3 separate regions of the Homo sapiens genome follow, and all the other regions are linked to region 1. Evidence: promoter capture Hi-C in 16 types of primary human blood cells and fetal thymus (Javierre and others, 2016). All regions are on one chromosome and are shown on one strand. The core of a region is centred on a gene start or on the middle of the fragment in contact, and the rest is flanking DNA. Distances in the headings are between cores, read along the strand shown. Region 1 holds the start of UNC5CL (unc-5 family C-terminal like). Region 2 has its middle 25 kb from the start of TREML4. Region 3 holds the start of TREML4 (triggering receptor expressed on myeloid cells like 4).

What was found. Contacts are between HindIII fragments. The CHiCAGO score rates a contact against its expected background, and 5 or more counts as called.
Region 2: a fragment that was not itself captured here is called in contact with the fragment with the promoter of UNC5CL in region 1 in 1 of 17 cell types (neutrophils); the score reaches 5.1 in neutrophils.
Region 3: a contact is called between the fragment with the promoter of TREML4 here and the fragment with the promoter of UNC5CL in region 1, in 7 of 17 cell types (neutrophils, activated CD4 T cells, naive CD4 T cells and 4 more). The highest score is 9.9, in neutrophils.

The regions. Positions count from the first base shown.
Region 1 is chr6:41,036,621-41,041,657 of GRCh38, reverse strand. It overlaps UNC5CL (unc-5 family C-terminal like), which reads left to right and starts at 2,437. Exons shown (of 9, transcript NM_173561.3): 1 at 2,437-2,496. It also overlaps a transcript of TSPO2 not described here. The HindIII fragment of the contact is 17,483 bases long and covers 1-5,037 here.
Region 2 is chr6:41,250,776-41,255,812 of GRCh38, reverse strand. No RefSeq gene overlaps it. Among named protein-coding and RNA genes, the nearest start is that of TREML4, 25 kb to the right of the region's middle. The HindIII fragment of the contact is 3,084 bases long and covers 575-3,658 here.
Region 3 is chr6:41,224,697-41,229,733 of GRCh38, reverse strand. TREML4 (triggering receptor expressed on myeloid cells like 4) reads right to left here and starts at 1,385. Exons shown (of 6, transcript NM_198153.3): 1 at 1,244-1,385; 2 at 690-1,020; 3 at 163-213. The coding sequence starts at 1,306. It overlaps LOC105375055 (a long non-coding RNA gene), which reads right to left. Exons shown (of 3, transcript XR_926794.3): 3 at 3,906-5,037. The HindIII fragment of the contact is 15,987 bases long and covers 1-5,037 here.

The DNA.
Region 1 (5,037 bases), core at 1,188-3,687:
GGTCCTGGAGGTTCTGGGACAGAGCTGAGCAGCATGCCCACCTGTGCATATTTCTACTTGTCTTTCTGTGCTCCTGACTGTCCGTTTGCTCATCTTCTGCCTTCCTGTTTTTCTACATTTCTGTCCAGTGGTGGAGGCCCCCTCCCTGCCCCTCCCTGCCCCCATCCTCTTTTCTCCTGACACCTGCCTCTCCCAGTGCCTCCTGGTTCCTAGGCCTGTGCTCCCCTTACCTCTGGCAGCACACCTCCCAGGCGGGGGGCCTGATGACATATGATGTGTGGAAGGCAGAGGAGGGTGGGGCTGGGAGGAGGGTGGGGCTGGGAGGAGGGTGGAGTGGTGCTCCCTGCTGATCTGCCTTTCTCAGATGAGAAGGGTGGTGACACTGGCTGGGAAGTCCAAGTTGCTGTTTCATGGCCCCAAAGAGTTCCTCTCAGGAGGAGCCCCTCTGGTCTGCCAGACCCTCCTTGGTGCCTGGCCTCTGGAGGCTACCCCTTGATGGAATGTTTGAGGGCTTGTGGTGAGGGTTTGACACTGGCCCTCCTGTGACAGCTCAGCCCCCAGTTATAATGCTGTTGATGCCTGTGGTCTTTGCATCCCATGAACCAGCTCTGTGGCCATGGGAGTGAGTGGTAGGAGCCTTCACATTTCTTCAGAGCCTCCTTATAATTGGGATTGTCCCCAAGAGTGGCAAGAACTAGCTTGGGAAGTGAGTTCATAATCCATGAACACAGCCCCTGGTTATAGCCTCCTGGTTGGCATGACCTTCCTGGCTTAGAACCCTAGCTTGACAGATCTTTCACAAACCCCTAGGACTTTATGACTCAGAGGAGAAGGCAGCTGACAAGTGGAGGTGGGTGGGGAGTCAAGGAGGAGTGACCTGGCGCTTCCTGGCAGAAAGTCCTGCCTCCCAGCCGCCCTAAAGAGGGGTAGGGGAGAGTGTCCCTGTCTGTTGGCAAAGTCCAGCCTCCTGTGTGACTCAGACAGAGCTTTGTTCAACAAAGACAAACACCCCTACCCCACTCCTTTCATTCCCTATCAAAGTTCTGAGCACCCCTTCCTGGCTTGTCTTTAGGCATGAGGTCTGCTTCCCAGGTTGCCCGCTCTCTACCATCTCTGCACTTTGGGGTACTGGGCTCCCCTGGGAGGTTTATTCCACCCTCTCACCTCCACCAGGGAAGGAAGCAGAGGGGAGGGCATTGCAGTCAGAGACAAGAGGCTAGAGAATTATTAACTGAGACAAAAGCAGAGGAAGTTACTTATTTTCTATGGGAGATGATAACTAGGGGCCTGGGGGGGCGTTCACCATGCCTCCTCAACTGCAGGAGGCCAGACCCTGGTGACAACGGTTACCATCTATTGACCACCCATTCTGTGGTGGGCATTTGACATTTATTAGCTCAATAATGACAATTATTATCTCACACAAGGTAGATATTCTTAACTGCATTTGACAGACAAGGGAATTGAGGTTCAGAGGAGTTAAGTAGCTTGCCCAATATTACATACCCAACGTGTGGCTCACCTGGGCTCAGTGTTGGCCAGTTGGAGCCAAAATGCATCCTTTTCCCTCTCAACTGCTTCACTCATTCATTCAAGACATGTTTATTGAACACCTTCTATCTATCAGGCTGTACCAGGAGCTGAGGAGACAGCCGAAAACATGGGAAAAGTTCCACAAGGAGTTTTCATTCTTGTGGTGCCACCGCTCCTAGGCAGAGTTTTAAGAACTCAGAATGGCAAATGGCCCCAAAGTTCAGTTGTCTCCCAACCGGCAGTGTCTCTGCCAACTTTGGGTGGGGGAAGTAGAAAGCACCTTGTGTAAGGAAAAATATGGGTACATCTCAGGTCCACCAGCAACTGGTGAGTCATTAACCGTCTCAGTGGCTCCACTGTCTTCTCTGTGTGGGGAGCGGGTGGAACTAGATGCTCTCTAAGCTCCTTGGACCGGTTGCATTGGCATCAGCTGGGAGCTTCTTTGAGCTGCAGAATCTCAGGCCCCATACTAGACCTACAGAATCAGAGCCTGCATTTTAACAAGATCTCCCAGGTGACTGTTGTGCACATTATAGTTTAAGAAACTCAGATGAAGGTTCCCTCCTCCTCCTATCTGCTATTTTAATAATAGCCTCTGGCTGGGGACAGCCACTCACCAGCAGAGGGCACTGTAAGGAGGGGTTTCAAGGTGCAGCACCTACACCCAGGTTGTCTCCCTGCCTCCCTCCTTCCTTCCAGACCTAGACTGGAAAGTTCACTGACTTCTGGGATCCTCAGCTAATCCCTTACCTGGGCTGGACTTTGCCAATAGACAGGGACACTCTCCCTCACCCCTCTTTAGACAGCTGGGAGGCAGGGCTCTGCCAGGAAATGCCAGGCCACTCCTGCCTGGATTCCCCGCCCACCTCCACTTGTCTGCTGGCCTGCCGACTGAATCTGGCTGACCCTTGTTTCTCGGAGAAGGAACTGGACCAGCCAGCAGCCTCTAAGAGCTCCTAGACGGTAAGTTGAGCACCCCCTTGGGGCAGCTGGAGAGGGGATGGGCATTGTGATGGGGTTACCTGGAGCTTCGGGGGAGGAGCCAGGCCAGCTTAGCCTGCCTGCTGGAGTGTAGGGACCCTCTGCTGGAGGAGGGGAGGAAAATGGGACTTGGCCAATGGGTATGAGGACCACTGGGATGATTCTGTGTCCTGCGGAAATGTCTACTATACTAACAAATGCCATTCATGACTTGGGTTTGGACCATCCATCCCAGTACTTGTTATGTTCTGCAGTAACTGGACATCTATCAGGTGTTGGGGAGGCACAGGGAGAACCAGTGAGGTGGAGGAAAGGTTGAGAGTTTTCTTAAAGGGTATGAGCAGAACTTTGCAGCAGGAGTTTGGATCTTTGTGCTGGAGGATGCAACTGCCTAGGGACAGGTGATGGCAGCATTCTAAAGGACTCTCGTTTCGGGGACCCGCTACCCAGGGTGATCTGGGGTCTGGAGCAAGACAGACTGGAGGAGTGGGTAATGAGGAGTCCAGGCATGGGGTTGGGATGCCCCAAGTCACACTCGAATGGCTGCAGTGCTATAGTTGCCATTCAGCAAGACTCCGGACCTTTCCCCATTCTGGAGCCAGAGGGAGGATGCAGTGAGGGCCAGGGCAGCCTGGAAGAGCAGTCACCCTGGGAGAGGCCCAGTGGGGCTTTGGGAGTGGTGCATGCCAACTTCTCCAGGGTCGGAGGTTGAGCCAGGGGACTCTACTGCACCACCCAGTGAGGTGCACCTCACTGGGGATCTGGACTCTGGTCTTTGGTGGCCCCAGGAAGGTTACTGCTGTGTAAGCGAGCTGGGGCCCCTCCTTTCATCCCTTTAGCAATTCCATCCCCTGCCACTGGTACCTTGGTAGGTGGGGGTGTGGTGTAGTGGGGTGGGTATTACCACATAACTGAGGATGTAAATTTAGGTCCTTCTATTTGTCTTTACTTCATTTTTGCTTCTTTCTCTTCCAACTTTATTTCTTCTAGAGAAGGAAAGGAAGATACTTGGGGAAAAGAAGGGGTGGAGAGAGAAAGGGGGTATCTCTGGAAGTCCTTGTTCGTCTTTGCTCCTCCTTCCTGCCTGTCTTCAGTTGTTTAGTAATTCCCTATCCATCTTCACTGTGGGGAGAAAGCTCGGATTCCTTATCTGTGAAATGGAGATAAAAATAACACCTCGCTCCTAAGGCTGCTGTGAGGATGAGATGAGACAAGCCATGGAGAGTGCTTTAACACAGTGGCATTGAGTAAAGCTCTGCGAATGTTAGCTATTGTTATTACAGTTGGAATTATAATTATTACTAATGTGAAAGAACCAAAAGAAATGATGGGACATCAACGGTAGCTTGCTGCTCCAACCCCCTTCCCATCAGCTTTGGGACACTGCCAATTCACTGATTCACCTGTGTGCCCTCCAGGATGCCTGGTTGAAAAAGGCTGGTGCATTGTCTGCTGGGTTGGCTCTTTAGGCAAAGAGAACAATGCCAACCCCCGCTTCTTATTCACACTTTCAGTGAGGACATGGGAGAAACAGGTACTGCCCCAGTCTTCAATCCTGAGGATACAGTGGAGGTTCTGCCCTGGTCTAAGAGGCACTAGGAAGGGGCTTCAGTTTTCATGGGTCCTGAGGTTGGAAGGAAGAAGGTGGGCCAAGCCTCAGTTCCAGGTGGGTAGTGCAAGTGAAGGGCGTGGGGAGGACTGGATACTGGAAGCTCTTCCAGTGCAGCCTCTAGTGAGTCAACCAGAGGGGCCTCCCAGGGCTCTGAAGGAGGACGTTGTGCCTCACAGAACTCAGCTACCAAGCCAATGAATTCCATTCCTGCAGAAGCTCCTTGAGAGCGGAATAAGACGTCATCTTTGGCAGGATTGAACTTCCCACAGTGTCCGATACACAGCCGGTGCTTAGAAAATGTTCATTTGAGTGGGAAAATCACACATGACAGCACATAATCAAGAGTGACTCAGTATGGTGGGATGGCTGTGGAGAGAGATTTCGCGAGCTGGAGGCTGTCAAAGGCCGGTGCACCAGCGGGAGGCACTATTGAATGGGAGGATCCACGTAGGGAGAGGAAACAAGTGGGGAGAGCAAGTGAGTGGAGAAACAGAAAACAGCATGAGCAAAAGCCAGAGGCTAGAATTAAGCAGGTGTGGGGAGCCTGGGCAGGCTACAGGGCAGGCGTGTTGGAAATTGTAGGGGCTGGAAGAGGGGAAGTAGGAGGAGGCGGAGGTGGGTTCTGGAGGGCCTCAGGAAGAGCTACTGGGAAGTCTCAGCCTGTGGCCTGGCTGGGTAGCCAGGTGAGCAGGAGGTGAGTGTATGCTTTTGCCCTGCCTCATTCCAGCTTCACTGTAGGGCTGCATCTTTGTGTTTTGTCTTCTTCATTTTTTTTTTTTTTTGCTTCCACTTTTAGCTTTTGTTGTTCTTGTTGTATGTTGCCTATCCCTGTGAGCTACCTTCAGGCCTTTCTGGCAGAAGGAGGGGCATAAAGAAACACATACATTTGGACAGTGCTTTCTCATCTACAA
Region 2 (5,037 bases), core at 867-3,366, 210 kb before region 1:
CTGTCATAGTAAACCCAGTGTTCAGTCAGGCCAGGCAGTTTGCACCTGGCCTGTAACTTAGCCCTGGGCTATAGGAACCCCTGCCCAGCTCAACCAAGTCACTGAGGCAAATCTCATCCTGCTCAGGTTTTGGGGAGGAGGTGTACCCTGTTCCAGCATTGAAGCTGAAGTCCACACTATGCTTACTTCTTAGTCCTGGTTGTGGGAACCTATTCCTCACTGAAGCCCTGGTTCTGCAAGTTGCAGCCTGAGTTTCCTTAATGCCTAAGACTGCCATCACTGGTTCCTAGGACCACACACAATTTTTTAAGAGCAAGGATCAAGAATGGCAGTTTCTTAGGTCTCAGGAAGGGTGTGAAACCCAGGGCATGCTACCTCCATGGGGAAGTTTCTTCTCACAGTCTCCCAGCTGCTCTGTAAGTTAGATTCAGGGATTGGAGAGTCAAGTTGCACTCCCATGTCCTGGATTGTATGATTCCCCAGTGGGAAAGTGGATCACAGAAAGACTCTCACTCACTCTCTCCCATTTGGGAGGGTCTGTTCTGGTTCCCAGCTGGTCCCAACTACACAAGCTTCCTGTTTTCTTTCTATTTCCTTGATTTTGGACTTTTCTTTTGCTTTTCTGTTGAACTCTCAAGTTCCCTCTTGGATAATGTATTCAAAGTGTGATTGTCTACACACTATTTGGTTCTTCTAAGTGGATGAGGTGTGATTAAAATGCTTCCAGGCAGCCATCTTGGAAAAAAAACTAGATATTATTCTATGTTAGAAATTGCAAATATCTTGTCTCAGTCTGTCATTTGTCACTTGTTAAGCTCATGTGAGACAAGGCTGCGCCAAAGCCAAGTCCTGACTGATTTGACTGCTAATAATGCAATTAGCCGCTTTTTTTTTTTTTCAAGGAGTCTTGCTCTGTGGCCAGGCTGGAGTGCAGTGGCACAATGTCAGCAATGAGCCACTTTTACTTTCAGTCAATTTATTATTTACACAGACAACAAGGGAAAGATTAGGCAAAGGTGCCAGCTCCTCATGGCTCTTGTCCCACACCCCAAAACAAAAGGGGCCAGACAACTGCAATATGAGTTGTGGGACATTCCACTGCTGAGGAATCTACTCTAGAGGCAGATAAGTGGTTTCATAACCTGCAGCCCTATTCTGAGGTCTGGGACAGAGCCTCTGGCCTCATCAGAACTCAGGAGGGCATGAGGAACTGTCTTTCAGGGGAGACAGAGAAGTTACTGGGCCATGGTTCTCACAAGCCTCCATCCTTTTATGTTCTAGGAGGGTTGCAGGCATTCTGCCATGCTTCAAATTAGCTGTAGTTCATGTGTCTGCCAGTGTGACCTATGTGGCATATGCAAGGTTGTCAAGACAATATCATGGAGCTGTTCCCCTATGTTGCTTTTGTCCACAGTATATTTTGTTAGAAAAATAATTTTTTTATTGGGAATAGAAACCATCCATACCCACATTCAGTCTTGACACTGAGAACTGAAATCACACCTTGCTGTCTACATTAACATGACTTTGCTATTCCTCTGTCTTTGTGAATACTACTTTACCAGGAGTTTTCTTGTCTGGGAAAATGGTTTGCTTGTTCATTATAGGAAATTCCTGAAAGATTCATCAACTCTTTCATGGAAAGCCCTAAGAGGTAGTTGGCAACATAAGATTCTTTGAATCCCCCACTTCAAAATCCTCATCCTATTGTTTCTACCAATCCAGGACTGTTTGATCGTGATCCTTACTTAATCATAGCCCAGCCCCTGCTTTGAAAGACCTACCTTAAATCAAACTTCTCAATAAGTCCTAATCTTGCCTTAAAACACTCCCAAAATTTTGTCAAGGTGGCTATTTACATTTAAATTAACAAAAATTAAATGATAAATAGAAATTCAGTCCTTCACTCTCATTTGTCTCAGGTCAGATGCTCAATTACCACGCATGGCTAGTGGCTACCCATGTTGGACAGGGAGAGAGAACATTCCACCATTGTAGGAAATGCTGTTTTATAGACTTTTGCCTCAACATAGTCAACTAAAAAGCATTCAGCTCCTTGTTATAAATTTAGCTTCTTATTAATACAGATTAAACATTTTATAGTACAATGTGCTTTTATACTTAAGTAGCTTGGATCATTGTTTCCATTTAATTAAAGCAGATTTTCCTCTTAAAGGGAAAAAAATCGCATAAATTTTTTTTTTATTTCAAAAGAAAGAGTTTTATTCTTTCTCATTCCTCAGCCTGTTTGTCCTTTCCTCTCTGAGTTTCTTTCTGAAGTATTTATAAAAAAATACTGAGATGGGCTTCATTTCCAGAAATTCTGATTCTATTGGTCTGTGTATGAGAACACACACATCAGTATTTTTTTTTTAAAACTAACCAAACAAGGCAAAAACCAATATTGCATTTAGCCCTAACATGTGGCTCCTGCTGAGAGCTGTTGGGTGAACAATGTCTTCCAGCTCTGGGTTTCTAGCATGCCTACTGAATTGACAAGGAAGCTAAAGCCAGAGAGGGTTCCTGACTCACCCAAAGTCACAGTCAGTTAGTCAGGTAGATACTAGATCCAGGGTCCCTCATTCAGAGTGCGTTCCCACTACTCATCAGGCCCCTGGGGTTGGATGAGCTCCATTGGAATTTGGGGAGGATGCCATTTCCCTCTCCTTAATACTCAGGTTGCAAGAAAACAAGGAAGGTGAACTAGGGAGAATGACAGCCTGGCTGAGAGCCTCCCCTATTCTCCATCACCACCTCCTTCTTCCCCTGGACATTTCTACCCAGACTAATGTGACTCAAGTCTGCTCCTGCCCCACCTTCCCCTTTCCCTCACTCCCACATCCTCTCAGCACACGAACTGGGGAACAAAGAGCTTGATGTCCAAACCCGGGGCTCAGAGGCTGGGAAATCATAGTTGATGACATTTGTCACATTTTTATTGTTGACTGTGGGCCAGGAGTGGAGACATCAGCAGTTGACTTGGGTGAAGGCTGGGTCATGGTTCTTGGGCTGGCATACAGTGGGCTCAGGGCCTTAGTGGTGGTAGGAAGAACTGTGGGAATCTGAGGCATGTTCTGGGTAGGATTAACATTGGAGGCAGGGGTACCTAAGAGACCTGTGAAAAGAACATTGGATGAATGGATGGATGGATAAGTGGGTGATTTAACGGATAAACTATTTGGAAGTGAGTGGATGGGTAGGTGGATAAATAGATGGATGAGTGGAGGAATGGACAGGATGTAGGAAGAATAAGTAGATGAAAAGATGGATGAGTGGGTGAATGGGTAGGTGTTAGGGTAAATGGAGCTAAGGAAGGAAATGGACATGGCCAAGAAGCAGGGTTTTCTTTTGCTATAACCTAAGAATACTGTGTGATCAGCCTAGGTTAGAGTCAGGAAGAAGGAAAGGAGGAAAGGAGGGAGGGAGGAAAGGCAGAAAGAAGGAAGAAAAAAGAAATATTCAGGCTATTCACTTTATTGGAACTGCACTTGCCTGCTATTCTTCACCAATCCATATGTCCCCAACTTCAAGAATAAATCCTTGATTATTTTACTTTATATCATTCATTCTACCTTGCATTCACCTATGCCTGTGGCATATTGCCTTATAAGTTATCTTTTATTAATGTATTCCATATGCACCTTGTTTTCCTCAAGCTTAGAATTCCCCTGGTGCTAGGAATTTAAACCTTCTCCCTCCTTTCTGTCTTTCATTATTCTTCCGTCCACCATATTTCTCTAATGCCACCTACCACCTTACGTCATAACCCTTCATCACATGCTGTTTCTCTGGCCCAACTGTGGGCTCCTCCAGCTCCGGATGGGATCTCAAGGCTTTTGAGTCCCCATCCAGGGCCTAGCTTAGCCCTGTGCCCTCCAGGGAATGGGCAGTGAGCCAAAGCTTGGGCAGTGAAGAAAGAGAAGCTTATTGGGGTCCTCCAGATGCCCATTTGACCAAGTGGCTGGGCACACTCAGCAGCAGGGAAAAAGCACCACTGTTTCTAACCATCACAGAAAAAGGCAGGAGAGCTTGGCAACTCTAATTTCAGGGGGAATGCCCAGGGGCCTTAGGATTAGTGGTGACCCCTAGCTTCTCATTTTGAAGCTTAATGACTCTCAACTGATAAGGGCAGGTCCAGGGAGAGGATCCAGGTCCCCTGAGCCCCTGGCTACTACACCTCCCAGCCTCACCCCCTAAGTCTCATGTCAGCCTCATTGTTTGGCTATCTCCTATGTCACATTTATCCCCCCACCCCATTACTCAGTGATCTTTCTTGACTACAGCCCTTTGAGAAGATGCTGGCAGTTAGAGTCAAGGGTAGGGATGTCTGGAATGGACCATTAAGCCCTTTGTGCTCAAGCATGGGGAAACTTTAAACTCATTCCAAATAAATGGAGGAGTCCTGTTAGTAGCAGCAAAAATGTTAAGGGCGATACGTACGATGTGGAAGGAAGAACCAAAAGCCAGCAGGCCTGCATTCTGGGGCTGGCTCTGCCCTTCAGCAGCAGGTGACCTTAGGCCAGGGGCTTTTCTTCTCCATGTCCCCAGTTTTCAGTGATGAGAAGGTGGAAGGAGAAGATTTCTAGGATCCTCTCCAGCTCTAACACCTTGTGATTCAGGAAGTCTGAGACCCACAAATACGAAGGGACAGAACTCACCTTGAGATACCACCAGGCAGATGATTCTGACAATAGAGATCTCAGGGGATTTAGAGATTCCACACCCATGGAATCCCAAGGCCTCTACTCTGAGCTCAGTCATGGTGACGGTGAAGACGCCATAGAAGCGATCATCTTGGATGAAGTATCGAGGGTCCCAGGCCGCTGTCCTGGGACTGTCCCCTACTATGGCACATGTATTGGCTGATATTTTCCCGCACCAGCTTTCCACCTGTAAATGTTGGGAGGGCTAGTACTGGTGTTTTACAGAGGTTGCCTCGCCCTCCAGGCTGGGAAGCAACTCTGTCCACTGTGCTCACAATGGCCTCCATGCCCATGCTCATACCCTCCCTAGACCATCCTCGACAAGTGGCCACTA
Region 3 (5,037 bases), core at 136-2,635, 190 kb before region 1:
CCCTAAGAGACAGTGGGCCCTGAAGGTAGCTTCCCACAAGCCCAGGCCCCAAGAGATCAGTCCTCAGAGGCAGGCCTCCCTGGTTTCCCCTTCCCTGAATCTGAGGCTCCCAAGCTGCCTGGTGACCCTTCTAATCTTCCCCCACCGAGGCCTCCAACCTACCTGTGCTTGTTGGGAGCCAGGGAAGAGTCCACATAGGAGACGTGGTTGGGGCTAAAGAGAAAAGACAGCAGACAATGACTCTCCAGGGGCCCAGAAGAGAGTAGGGTCTACCCCATACATAAGAGGAGGTAGGGGCCCAGAGCCAGACCCTCAGGATGTCTTAAGCCAGGAGTGGTCTGTGCCTAAGATCTGCATGACAGAGTTGTTGGTGTGTGTGTGTTAGTGTGTGTGTGAAAAGAAGAGTTGTGGGTGTGCCTGTGTAAGACAAAGAGAGACGCAGAGTGACAGACAGACTGTGTCTCTGTCCAGGGACCTCTGAGGGTACCTTCCCAACAATTGAGGCCAGGATGTACCGGGTGGAGGAGAGGTGAGAGTCCATGTTTGGGGACAGGATCTTTGCTCCCCTTGGACCACAGCAGAATACCTGGCAGGATGGGGGATGATAGAGGCATGGGAGGGGGTGCATGACATTTCCTTCAGGTCCCTGGGGGGTGGCACAGAGGTATTTCCTCAAGAAAAGAGCTCACCTGGAGACACCACCAGGCTGATATTTCTAAGAACAGTGATGATGTTTTCGGAAGCGTTGTAGATTCCACACCAGTAGAATCCCGAGTCATTCTGTGTCAGCTGAATCATGGTGATGTTGAAGAAGCCAGCATTGGGCTTGTCCCAGATTGTGTAATGAGACTTCTGAACTGCTGTCCAGGGCTTGGAGCTGGTGACAAGTAAGGTACACCGACTTGGAGATGTCTGCTGACACCAGGATTTGGGCTGATAGGGCCCTCTCTTGGGTGAGTACTGGCATTGCAGGAGGAGGGTCTGTCCTGGGTGTTTGTGAAGTTCTTCAGGCACAGCACCCTTTACCCAGGAACCGGCAGAAAGAAACCCAGGTCAGAGCTCTGAAGGGACCCAACCTCCCCCATCACAGGCTGGGGAAGGGGAGGGGGAACTAGTTCTGATGCCCACACATGGAAGAGGGCCCCTAAATTCTGTCCTATGGTCACACAGCCATGCTGCTCCCTGCCCCACTCATTCTTCATCCCACTCCTTACACCCCCTGCACTCTTTCCCTCCATGTCACCTGAGGCCAGGAGCAGCAGCAGCACAGGTGGAAGCAGCAGGTGTGGACCCCACCCCAGGCCATTCCAGCCCAGATCTGTTTCTGACAGCGGAGGAGAGGAGAAAAAAGGGAGCCCTCTCAGGAGGAGTCAGACGCTGGGTCTGATTCTGCCCCAGGTTCCCAGTGTCTCTCAGCTGGTAAAATTGAGGAAGTCAATGTCTTGCTGGGGAAATGGTCGGCCTGGGAGGGCGGGCTCTGCAGACCAGGGGAGGAGGGGCAGCCAGGCCTTGAAAGGGGCCACCAGCTACAGGGTCTGTCTCTGGGCCTGGGCACCTCAGCCCTGCTGTGTTGCTCTGCCGCCTTTCACTGAACTTCTCCCCATGTCTGCTGCTTTATGCCTTCCAGCCAGTCATACTGCTCCTCTATTGCTAGGGGCAGCTCTCAGCATGGCCAAGAATAAAGCTGGTGAATAAAGCTGGGGTCATCCCTCTTTCCTTCTCTCTGTGCACTTCCTATAGGTGGTCAGGGCCCTTGGAGGCACGACCAGACCCCTGAATCCTTCTGGTCTAGCCATGGTGGGTTGATGATGAGTTTTGACCCTGAGACATTTTGTAGAGGGCAGATTTTAATCCCAGGAATTACAAGATGTTCCCTGGAAATGGTGGGGCCAGGAAAGCAGGGAGGAAAGAGAGTGCTGGTCAGGGAAAGTTGGAGGGGAAGGCAGGTAGGAGTGGATCAGTTATGGTAGCTTGGGATCATCTCAATCAGTGCTTGTTGGATGAATACATCAGTGGATGAAAGAACAACGCGTGTGTAAAATGTACAGAAAAAGAAAATGGCCGAAGTGAGAACTATCTAGCAACAAAACCAAGTGGTACTGGATTACTACCCAATGTATATATTAAATCTCTAGGAGTCCATGCTGATGTAAGTAAATGACTGAATAAAGAACTGGGGGGGGGAATAGACAAATATCCCATGCATAAGGATTCTGCTGTGTTCAGAATGTTGTTCCCCCATCTCATATATTCAAACTTAATTTCCATGTGATAGCGTTAAGAGGTGGGATCTTGTGGGAAAATCTTAAGTCATGAGGGCGTCATCCTCAAGAATGCAATTAATGCCCTTATACCAGAGATTGCAGGAAGCAGATTTGCGCTGTCTGCCATATGAGGACAGTGTTCATGCCTTCAGTCAACTGAGGTTACTGCAAGAAAGCACCACCTTGGAAGCAGAGAGCAGCCCTCAGCAGATACCACATCCACTGACACCTTGATCTTTGACTTCCCAGACTCCAGAACTTTGAGAAAGAGATTTCTATTATTTAGAAAGTCTCCAGTCTAAGGCATCTTCTCATAGCAGCCTGAAGGGACTGAGAGAGATTGCAAACAATTCTTATAGGTATTCTGCCCTCAAGGCAGAAGCATAAATTCCCACGGCTTAAGCATGGGCTGTGCAGGTGACTTTCCTCCAGAGGATAGCATGGGAAGGAAGAGAAGAGTAACTGTACAGTGGAGAAACCTGACACTTACTGTGGCAGCCAGGCAACCAAAGTGCAGACCCACAGGGATAACTCAGGTTGTTAGAATGTGTCATTGACTTGATGTGATGACAGGGCAATTAGCTGTGCAGTCTCCTTCCCCAAAGCCGCTGGCCCCAGGAGAAAAACATCAAACAAATTCCACATGAGGGACATTCTACAAAATACCTGAGCAGCGTTCCTCAAAACTGTCAAGGCCATCAAAACTAAGAAATAATTCTCAGAAACTGCTATGAATAAGAGGAGCCTAAGCAGACATGAAGACTAAAAGCAATGTGGCTTCCTAGGTGGGATCCTGGAGCACAGAAAGTACATGAGGTAAAAGCCAGGGTAATCTGAATGAAGTAAGGACTTCAATTAATAAAATCTACCACAGAAACAGAGTAGAATGGCATTACCAGAGGCTGGGAATTGGACAAACTGGGTAGGTATTGTTGAAGAAACACAATATGTTAGACAGAAAAAATAAGTTCAAGAGATCTATTGCACAGTATGGTGAGTGCAGTTCATAACTATGAATTGTACAATTGAAAATGACAGAAAATAGATTTTAAATGTTCTCACCACAAAACAAGTAAGTATATGTGGTATTGCTTGATTTAGTAATTTCACAGTTAATACACACATCAAACTATCCTACCACGCATTATAAATATATGAGTTCTACTCATCAATTTTGTAAAATTATAGTAATGTATCAATATCAACTCATTAATTGTGAGAAATGTAGCATACTATTGGACTATATTAATAATAGAAGACATTGAACATAGCACATCAGGGAAGTATGCAATACCTACACAACTCTTCTGTGAATCTGAAAGCATTCTAAGTGTAAAAGATTAGTTTTAATATGTATAGAAACGATTTACACAAAGCATATGAATAATCACTTGATACATAACAAACAGCGTGTACATAACAAACAGCAAAGTTTTAAGAAATCTTAGTACGGCTAGGTGTAAAGCACCTACTAACACTTGATGGTAATAAGAGTCATTTTCTTAAACACACTGAAGTTTCTAAGAAAAGTATGATAAATTCTGGAAGAGGAAAATAGGAATTTATTCTCTGCATCTGTATCATTTGATGCCTTCAGTGTGATATGTCACACATAGTGTCCGATGTACTGATTGCTGTAAATGAAAATTTGTTACTATAACGTTTATACTACAGAATAGGGTTTATTTGGTGTAACAAGGCAAATACTATATTTTTACAAATAGCGTTTATTTGACATAACAAAGCAAATACTATATGTTTATTTTTCACTTAGTCATATTTGACTTTCATTGACAGCAAAAGAAACAACAAAACTTATAAATTTTAACTATTGTGATCTCAGTTTTGGCTGAGAGTATTCAGGTAGACACTGTGAACTCACTATATATTCATTGCCACCTCTTTCTTTCTTCCCTTCCTTCCTTCCTTCCTTCCTTCTTTCCTTCTCTCTCTTTTTCTTTCTCCTTCCTTCCTTCCTTCTTTTTTCTTTTCTTTTCTTTCTTTCTTTCTTTCTTTTTTCTTCTTCTGTCTCTCTTTTTCTTTTCTTGAGATGGAGTTTTACACTTTCGCCCAGGTTGCAGTGCAGTGGTGTGATCATGGCTCATTGCAGCCTTGACCTCCCAGGGCTCAAGTGATCCTCCCACCTCAGCCTCCTGAGTAGCTGGGAGTGTGGGCACACACCAATGCACCTTGTTATTATTATTATTATTGCTTTTCATAGAGACAACGTTTCACCATGTTGGCCAGGCTTGTCTTGAACTCCTGGACTCAAGAGATCCACCCAGCTTAGCCTCCCAGAGTGCTAGAATTACAGGTGTGAGCCACTATGAGTGGCTGCCACCTCTTTTTCATGGGTCTTTCTATAGTAAAAGGTCTACAAGATCATTTCTGATTCCTTTGCAGCTAGGGTTCCAGATATATTTTAGGTCCCACCCATTCAATGTATTTGTATGAGACTTAAATGAGGAAGTGAGCTAGAATGGGAAGAGAGGCATCCATTGTGCCGGTAGACTATGGGTGAGATGGAGGGGTTCTTTAGCCAGGGCTGTGATGGCAGCTTCCAGATTTGGAAAGTTGCCTGATTTGGAAAGGGTGTTGACTGTGGCAAAGGCAGTGGTCCCTTAGTAGCCCATCCTGTGGCTTTAAGAGTGATGCCCAGAAATTACATAGGATCTGATTCTGTAAAGCATTTAATGTTTGATTTTAAAAATCTCTTTCTCCTTAAAATCCGTAGCTTGGATTTTGTAGTTTGCAGCTAAATCTTGACTAATGC